Regions from separate parts of the Homo sapiens genome. Here region 1 is linked to region 2. Evidence: promoter capture Hi-C in human tissues and cell types (Jung and others, 2019). All regions are on one chromosome and are shown on one strand. The core of a region is centred on a gene start or on the middle of the fragment in contact, and the rest is flanking DNA. Distances in the headings are between cores, read along the strand shown. Region 1 overlaps EHBP1 (EH domain binding protein 1). Region 2 holds the start of B3GNT2 (UDP-GlcNAc:betaGal beta-1,3-N-acetylglucosaminyltransferase 2).

Evidence for each region. Contacts are between HindIII fragments. The study calls those that stand out against the background at their distance.
Region 1: a fragment that was not itself captured here is called in contact with the fragment with the promoter of B3GNT2 in region 2 in 1 of the 25 tissues and cell types used here (bladder).

What each region holds. Positions count from the first base shown.
Region 1 is chr2:62,745,645-62,750,085 of GRCh38, forward strand. It overlaps EHBP1 (EH domain binding protein 1), which reads left to right. Exons shown (of 23, transcript NM_001142616.3): 3 at 1,751-1,808. Among named protein-coding and RNA genes, the nearest start is that of EHBP1, 42 kb to the left of the region's middle. The HindIII fragment of the contact is 5,086 bases long and covers 1-4,331 here.
Region 2 is chr2:62,193,164-62,197,624 of GRCh38, forward strand. It overlaps B3GNT2 (UDP-GlcNAc:betaGal beta-1,3-N-acetylglucosaminyltransferase 2), which reads left to right and starts at 2,952. Exons shown (of 2, transcript NM_006577.6): 1 at 2,952-3,192. LOC124906013 (a long non-coding RNA gene) reads right to left here and starts at 2,850. Exons shown (of 2, transcript XR_007086336.1): 1 at 1,976-2,850; 2 at 826-1,744. RefSeq lists enhancers at 1,437-2,044, 2,651-3,257, 4,238-4,347 and silencers at 2,338-2,567, 2,858-3,297, 3,478-3,827. The HindIII fragment of the contact is 18,752 bases long and covers 1-4,461 here.

The DNA of each region.
Region 1 (4,441 bases), core at 539-3,038, 550 kb after region 2:
GTGAAATGCCTTACAAGCCGTGTTGAGAAACAAGGGTGTCACAGGGCCAAATGCACATAGGGTCTAGATAGATCATTTTAAGGAGTGAAGCTGGTCAGGTGTGAAGCAGTTGGTAGTGTTGGAGGCTCTCCTAATCTGGACAGCATAGGCCTTGTTTAAAGGCATTTAAATAAGAACTTTTTAAAAGAGTTTAAGTTTAAAATAAAATAGAATACTCTTTCAGTCAAGTAAACCTGTAAAATTCAACCTGCAAGGGCCAGTTGGTGGTACCTTCAATTTAAGAGCCCAGCATAGGATGATAAACAAGGAAAAACTGTAAGATAGCATTTCTATAAAAGTACTGTCGAAATATAATTTCAGAGTTGAAATTGTGCTGGAGCTGTGGAGATGAGAGCATAAGTGAAGAGGTTAGTGCAGTAATCTAGGTAAAATGTTCTGGCAAGCCATCAATGTTTTCAAATGAGGTAGCTTACATTTGTTGGCTACTGTTCTCCTCTTGTTAACTTGCCATCATAGATCATACCTTCTTCCCAACCCCATCTATCATGTTGTTATACCGCACTCCATTCTTACTCACTGGAATTGTCCTAGTGCAGGTTTCTGTGTTGAACAAGGTGTTTTTTTTGTTTTTCTTTTAACGGTTGTTTGTTTTTCCATTGGTATAACTCTCTCTAGATAGCAGTATAGGTTTGTAGGTGGATCGCTGAGTGAGGAGTTTAAGGCTGGAGGCCTCTTATGTGTGTGTATATATATATATGTATTTAATTAAATGAAATAGGAGGAAAGGTTATCTGCTGAAAGCACGGGATTCCAGTGTAAAATGAACAGGACATAGAAAGTGGTGAAGGTCAACAAGATGAGTATGACTTTCATTTCTTGGTTAAGAAGCTTTTATCTAAGATTTTTTAAAATGAAAATTTAAGTAAAATAAGTGATAATCATAATCTTGATGTTTTTCATAAGAACAAAAGAGAACTTAGTTATATTAGGTTGATGCAGAAGTAATTGCGGTTTTAGTCGTTAAAAGGAATGGGAAAAACCACAGTTACTTTTGCACGAACCTAATTTTACCTGAAAATGTATTATTTTTGTTTGACTTTATATTAGTGGAAGATAGAGAAGAGAAATCTGAGATTAGAAGACCTGTATTTCAGTCTTGGTTCTGCCAGAGCTTTTGATTATTTAACTTAATAGTCTTTTAAGCTTAACTAAAATAGGGATAATAGTATATACCTTGCCTATTTTTTCAGTACCGTATTGTTTTTAATGAAGATTGAGATGATTGGCTATAATAATGTTTTAAAAACCACAAGCATTGTTCATGAGATACAGAGATGCAAAAGTAGTGAATTCATAGATTTAAATTATTTTGCAAGTGCCCTTTTTATGCTTGTTTACTTCACATTAAAGGGAATAATGTGTTAGAAGTATGGTGTTAATTTATGGAGAAGATATGTGTGTGCTTTTTTTCTTTTTAAAATAGACCAGTTCTAAATATTTTATTTTACTTGGTTTGTCCCTGTGATTTAACTTGCTAAAGTATTGTTGGAAAAGGACATGGAGGAAATATTAGTTATGCAAATTAGGTCACATCTGTAGTTAACATCTACTATATTTGATAGAGCTTTATTGTAACAGTAGCTGCTTTATGTAGCCTAAAGCAGATGACATTTTTGCCCTTTTAAAGGCGCTAAAATGAAACTTTATTTATTTAAGATAAATTATGTTTAACTTTTTTTTTGTTTGGCAGGCAACCAGATAAACTGGTGGTAGTTTGGACCAGAAGAAGCCGAAGGAAGTCTTCTAAGGTTAGTGTATTTTCTAAATTTCTTACCTAATTGTTGAATACAAATTAGCAAACTGCTCTGGTTCCAGTGTAGAATATTTTAAAATATTACTTGATGTTTTGTTTTTTTTTCTTGATTGTCTACTGAAAATGGATTGATCAGATGCTATAATCTTTTAACTGCTTGTTCTCAAAACGGGAGCCAGATACCTGAGTTTTGGTCTTGGATTTGGTAATTACTATGGTTTGAAAAAAATCAGGTGTTGCCAATGTAATAGAATAGGTTGGTGCAAAAGTAATTGCGGTTTTGCCTTAAAAGTAATAGCAAAAACTGCAGTTACTTTTGCACCAACCTAATATAAGGAGGTGGGGGGCCTTTAAGAAGTGATTAGGGTAAGGACTTCTCCCTTGTGAATTCAATTAGGCATCCTTATAAAAGGACTTGATAGAGGGAGTTTGTTTCCTTTTTGCCCTCTGCCTTCTGCCACATGAGGATGCACTAAGAAGGCCCTCACCAGATGCCGATGCCTTGATCTTGAACTTCTAGCCCTTAGAACTGTGAGAAAATAGATTTCTGCTCTTTATTTATTACTCAGTCTGCGGCATGTTGTTACACCAACACAAATGGACTGAGACAGTAGCCTTGAATAACATAATAGTTAAGTTACTTCTCTGTACTACAGTGTTAAGAATTAATGATTAAACAGGTACCACTTACAAAATTGTACCTAAGATTAATTTATTTAGATTACAAGATGACGAAGTTAGGGCACACTTAAGAAGTTACGAGTTATCTGAGTCTGTTGCTGGGGTGCAGAAGAGGAGTTGGATTTTTCAAAGATTTTAATTTCTTTTGGTACTGATAATTTTGTTTGTGGGGAGTGGAACCGAATTTTATAATATTCAATAACAGTTCTACAGATATTTAAAAAATTCTATCCTGGCCAGATTCTATCCTTACGCCTGTAATCCTGGCACTTTGGGAGGCCAAGGCAGGAGGATCGCTTGAGGCTAGGAATTTAAGACCAGCCTGGGAAACATAGTGAGACCCCATATCTACAAAAACAAAAACAAAAACAAAATTAGCCAAGTGTGGTGATGCACCTGTAGTCCCAGCTACTGAAGAGGTTGAGATGAGAGGATTGCTTGAGCCCAGGAGTTTGAAGCTTTATTGAGCTAAGATTGTGCCACTGCCCTCCAGCCTGGGTGACAGAGTGAGACTGTCTCTAAAAACAAAATTCTGTTCTAAAATAAATGTGACTATATTTTTTATTAGTATACAATGACCACAAGAATGTTTATTGAATGTTGGTTTTTCTACAAGTAGACCTGTATAAAGAAAACTTTATTAGTTTTAATTGAAATCCTACAATTTTCTGTATTTAAAATTTTTTATTTAGGGCCTCTTTTCAAGTCTTTTATTTTTATTGAGCTAAAACTTACATATGTGTAATACACAGATCTTAATTTTATAATTCAGTAAGATTTGATCAATATGTATACTTGTATAATTACCACTTCTGTAAAGATACAGACTGTTTTAATCACTTTTTTCTTTTTTATTTTATTATACTTTTAAGTTCTAGGGTACATGTGCACAACGTGCAGGTTTGTTACATATGTATACATGTGCCATGTTGGTGTGCTGCACCCATTAACTCGTCATTTATATTAGGTATATCTCCTAATGCTATCCCTTCCCCATCCCCCCACCCCACAACAGGCCCCCTGTGTGTGATGTTCCCCTTCCTGTGTCCAAGTGTTCTCATTGTTCAATTCCCACTTATGAGTGAGAACATGCAGTGTTTGGTTTTTTGTCCTTAAGATAGTTTGCTGAGAGTGATGGTTTCCAGCTTCATCCATGTCCCTTCAAAGGACATGAACTCATCCTTTTTTATGGCCGCATAGTATTCCATGGTGTCTATGTGCCACATTTTCTTAATCCAGTCTATCATTAATGGACATTTGGGTTGGTTCCAAGTCTTTGCTATTGTGAATAGTGCTGCAGTAAACATACATGTGCATGTGTCTTTATAGCAGCATGATTTATAATGCTTTGGGTATATACCCAGTAATGGGATGGCTGGGTCAAATGGTATTTCTAGTTCTAGATCCTTGAGGAATCGCCACACTGACTTCCACAATGGTTGAACTAGTTTACAGTCCTACCAACAGTGTAAAAGTGTTCCTATTTCTCCACATCCTCTCCAGCACCTGTTTCCTGACTTTTTAATGATTGCCATTCTAACTGGTGTGAGATGGTATCTCATTGTGGTTTTGATTTGCATTTCTCTGATGGCCAGTGATGATGAGCATTTTTTCATGTGTCTTTTGGCTGCATAAATGTCTTCTTTTGAGAAGTGTCTGTTCATATCCTTTGCCCACTTGTTGATGGAGTTGTTTGTTTTATTCTTGTAAATTTGTTTGAGTTCTTTGTAGATTCTGGATATTAGCCTTTTGTCAGATAAGTAGGTTGCAAAAATTTTCTTCCATTCTGTAGGTTGTCTGTTCACTCTCATGGTGGTTTCTTTTGCTGTGCAGAAGCTCTTTAGTTTAATTAAGTACCATTTGTCAATTTTGTCTTTTGTTGCCATTGCTTTTGGTGTTTTAGACATGAAGTCCTTGCCCATGCCTGTGTCTTGAATGGTATTGCCT
Region 2 (4,461 bases), core at 1,702-4,201:
TAGACTGTGAGCTCCAAGCAGGGAGTGTGTTTGCCATGTTCACCACTCCAGCGCCTAGTCCTGTGCTGCATCTAGAGGATGGCCAGTACATTTTTGTTGAATAAGTGAATAACACATCTCTGCCTACTGATGATGGACCTGGGTCCCAACCTAACAGTAGGGACTATAGCCAAGCGATGTGGAATCTAGCATTGAGTTACTCCCCAAAAGACACAAGGTAACTATTGTAGATATACTCCCAACTGTGTTAAAGCCACCATGGAGAAAATGCCCTTATTTATTTGAGACGGAGTCTTGCTCTGTCGCCCAGGCTGGAGTGCAGTGGCACGATCTCGGCTCAGTGCAACCTCCACCTCCCGAGTTCAAGCAATTCTCCTGCCTCAGCCTGCCAAGTAGCTGGGACTACAGGTGTCCACCACCACACCTGGCTAATTTTTTTGTATTTTTTGTAGAGACGGGGTTTTACCATGTTGGCCAGGGTGGTCTTGAACTCCTGACCTCAAGTGATCCGCCCACCTTGGCCTCCCAAGGTACTGGGATTACAGGCATGAGCCACCGTGCCTGGCCTAAGAATACCCTTATTTTTAAATTTCATGGCCTGGGCAGCCTTGGGCAGCGAGGGACACAAGCTTAATTTCCTAGTTGGTTGCCAGCTGACATTGTAGCAGCTCCTTTACTATAAACTCCTTGGCTGGCCGTTCTTGCAAGCATGTCTGTGGCTACAGGGAGTGCATTTAAAGGGAAGACACATATGCATGGAAACAATATACCAATCTGATGGCACAGAAAATCTTCCTTAGATGTCCGCTTTGTCTCAACACTGCATTTAAATATCAGACAGCAGCCTAGAGATATCTTTATTTAAACCCAGGAACATGGACTCAATATTATTTTGATACAGAATGAAGACATAGACTTCATTTATTAATTTATACTCCCTAGAGTTCTTTTTTTTTTTTTGAGACAGAGTCTCACTCTGTCACCCAGGCTGGAGTACAGTGGCACGATTTCGGCTTACTGCAACCTCCGCCTCCCTGAGTTCGGCGATTGTCCTGCCTCAGCCTCCCAAGTGGCTGGGATTACAGGTACATGTCACCATTAATTTTTGTATTTTTAGTAGAAACAGGGTTTCACCATGTTGGCCAGACAGGTCTCGAACTCCTGACCTTGTGATCCACCCGCCTCGGCCTCCCAAAGTGCTGGGATTACAGGCGTGAGCCACCGCGCCCGGCCTCTACTTCCTAGAGTTCTTAGAGAATTTCTAGCTTCTGTTTCTTTAAACATGTTTTATTAGCTTTCTAAATTATGAAAGTAAATACAACTGGAAAAATACAAAATCCAAAGTCAAGGGAGTAAAAAAATGTAACTCCCTTGTTTCCCCTCCCCGCGTAACCGTGGTTAACAGTCGGTGTGCACCCTTACAGATGTTTTTTCTATGAAAATACAAACATTCGACTTGTTTCTTGGACTTTACCTCGCAGTCCGAGGAGAATCATGTGAACAGCATGAAAGCAGCATGGTCCGAAGACTGCAAACCATAACATTTCCATATCTACTGACTCTGAATTCCTGTTTCTAGAGGACCCGCACCCACGTGGCTCTGTGCATCCGCAGCAACTTGGTCTTTCTTCCTTTGCTGAGTTTGGTTAAGGGAAAGGGCCGATTATTGAGTGGGCTCAGTTCACAGGTGCCTGAAATTCCTACTTAGCAATGTTCCTTTCCAGCTGATTCCGCCTCCGAGAGCCTTAGGAAAAAATGCTAACAGTTAGGAGCGAAGCGTCCTTAATTGCTCAGTCCAATTATCTAGATGGGTCCAGGTTCGGTTTCGATTCAGAGATAAGGACCAGGGGGCGGGGACGCTTCCAGGTGAGCCCCTGGTTAGGCTTGCCTCCCCGCGGAGCGCACGCGGGTCTCGCTGGCTGGACTGGGCCTTTCAAGACCAGGTAACTTCTCCATCCGGTATCGCCAGGCTTACCTGGGGGCCTCAGAATTGTGTCAGCTGCGTCTCTGAGTCACCTTGGAACCCCTCGAAGGAGCGCGGGGCTAGGAGGGCGCATCGGTGGGCCCGGGGACCCCGCTGCTAGGTGTGGTTGGCGCCAAGGCCGCCTCTGGCCGGCGGAGCCCTGCAGTGTCCGGAGGGTGCGGTCAGAGTCCGGCCCTTTAGGCCTTGCCTCGGTATCCGCCTTGCCCCTTGGGCCGCGGCACGGGTTCGGGCCGAGCGCCCGGCATCTTGCGTTTCTGGCTTCCTGAGACGGGCGTGGGACCTCGAGGAAACCACTCTGCATGACCCCACGAAGAGAACTAAGGACCACCCCCCACCCTTCCTGTCCTGGACGGCTTCATAAGCCAGAGGATCCAGTGGCAGTACCAAGCAGGGCACCACTCTGGGTCGTGAGCACCTAAGAGGTGGAGCAAAGGTCAGACCCCAGGGTGGCCCAGGCCTCCCTCCCCCGCCTCCCCGGCGGGGCCATTCCTCACCCGCCCCAGCACTGGAGGGGGCGGCCGGGGTCGGTCTAGTTCCGGTTACAAACTGGACAGAAAAGGCCACTGGAGTCTCGCTAGGCGATGCGCCTAGTCCCCTAGCCTCAGACGAACCGCAAGAGGGGCCACCCACAACTGGAGGGGCGGAGGCTGGAGCTGAGTTTCATTAGTGTTTTTGGAGCTGCCAGGCATTTCCAGGGGGGTCGCCTTCCTAGAGGCCCCCTTTCCCCAGCTTAACCCTCGGCTTTGCAGGAGGGTGCGTGGGGGCTGGAGGGTCCCTGGAAGCCGCAGGGAGCGCGGGCCCGGGTGGGTCCTGGTACCGGGTGGGGAGAGCGGAACCCTCCCAAAACTTGGGGCGCGGGGCGGGGCCGTCGGGCGGTGACGTGAGGGGCGGGGCCGGGCCCCATTGGCGGGCGGGCAGGGGAGGGGCGGGGCCGGGCGCCCGCGGCGGCTGCTGCGCCTGGAACCGGAGCCTGGAGTGAGGCGCAGCGGCAGCGGCAGCAGCGGCAACAAGTGCCGGAGGCTAGCAGAGCCAAGCCGGAGCAGTCCCTGCCGCCGACACCGCCGGGCCGCCCGTCCGGGGCGCCGCGCATGGAGCGTGAGCTGCGGCGGTCGCCGGGCTGAGCCGCGCGGAGCGGCCGGGACGTGGATGTGGCCGCGATCTCCCGCCCTTGCCCCCGCCCCGCCGAGCTGGAGCTGCTCCCGGACAAGGTAGGGCCCGGGCGCCGAGCACCCCCGCCGGCTCCCTCCCCGCTGCCCTCTCACCGCCAGGCCCCTCTACCAGTCCCCTTCCGCCTCCCTGCTTCCCGGCCCCACCTTCCGGACACCCTGCTACCCCCGCCCGGTTCCTCGCCGGTTCCGGCTTCGTACCCGCGCCCCGGTGGAGGAAGCCGTCCCTAGGTGGCTCCTGCCGCATTTAAGCCTCCCTTACCTTCCCGCCGTCCCAGCCACCCAACCTCAGCCCAGAGGGAGAGGAGAGGGACACCGCCCGCTGCGGGGCTTTGGAACCTCCCAACCCATTCCGTGCCCACCTCGCCCTGGAGCCCGGGGACCTTCCCCCTCCTCGCTGCACCCCAACTTCCGGGGGATCCGGCGCCGGGGCGATGCGGGCTTTGGCAAGGGGCATCTGGGGCCGGGCCTCCTCATCCGGGGCGCGCGGGCATTTCGGGGAGGGGGGCGCGCGTGATTCCTCGCTCGCACCCCCGCACCCCACCCTCGCACTGCGCCGGCCTCCCGTGCCGCATGGGGAGATCAGGTGTTTTGTGAGCCAAAGAGCCGCCGGCAGCCGCTCCCCACCCCCCACCCCCAACCTCTGCCACTTCTGTCTCCGGCTCCCCCAAAACTGGTTTCTGCCAAACTTAGGGAAAACCTTTCGCTTTGACCTTTTAAAAAAAATATTCCACACTGTTTGCGTTGAATGATTAACCAGGCTGCTAGCCCGAGTCGTGGGGGTGGGGTGGGGCGGGGTGGGGTGGGTGCTGCCAGGCCAGGGAGCGCCTGAAGCCGGACTCTACGAGACACCCCTCGTGGGAAGGTGGGCGTGGGGGGCCCTGCCGGGGCTGCGGGCGCGGGACTGGCGGCTACTCCAGCACGGCAGGCGGACCCTTCTGGAGGCAATAAACCGAGTCACCCGGTTAATTTCCAGGCCACGGTATTTGAAACTCGGGGCTGGGGAGCCGCAGAACTCCCTGTACCCCCATCAAGTAGAGGAGCCGTCGGGAGACTCCCCACAAGTGTCACAGCGTCAAAGCTCATCTTTAAAAATATGTACATTTATAACCTGGGTTGGCGAGGCGGCGCTCTTCTGCCCAAAACGTAGGGGTGGTTAGTTTGTAGAGTGGGCTTAGCTCACAGGTGCCTGAGCTGTATCCCCGTGGCCGCCTCAGCCACCCCAACTTCTCAGAAAGATTGTTTAGAACAATTAAACTATATTCTTTTGCCCTTCTCTTGTTGGAACCCTACCGTAATATCCGATAGCGA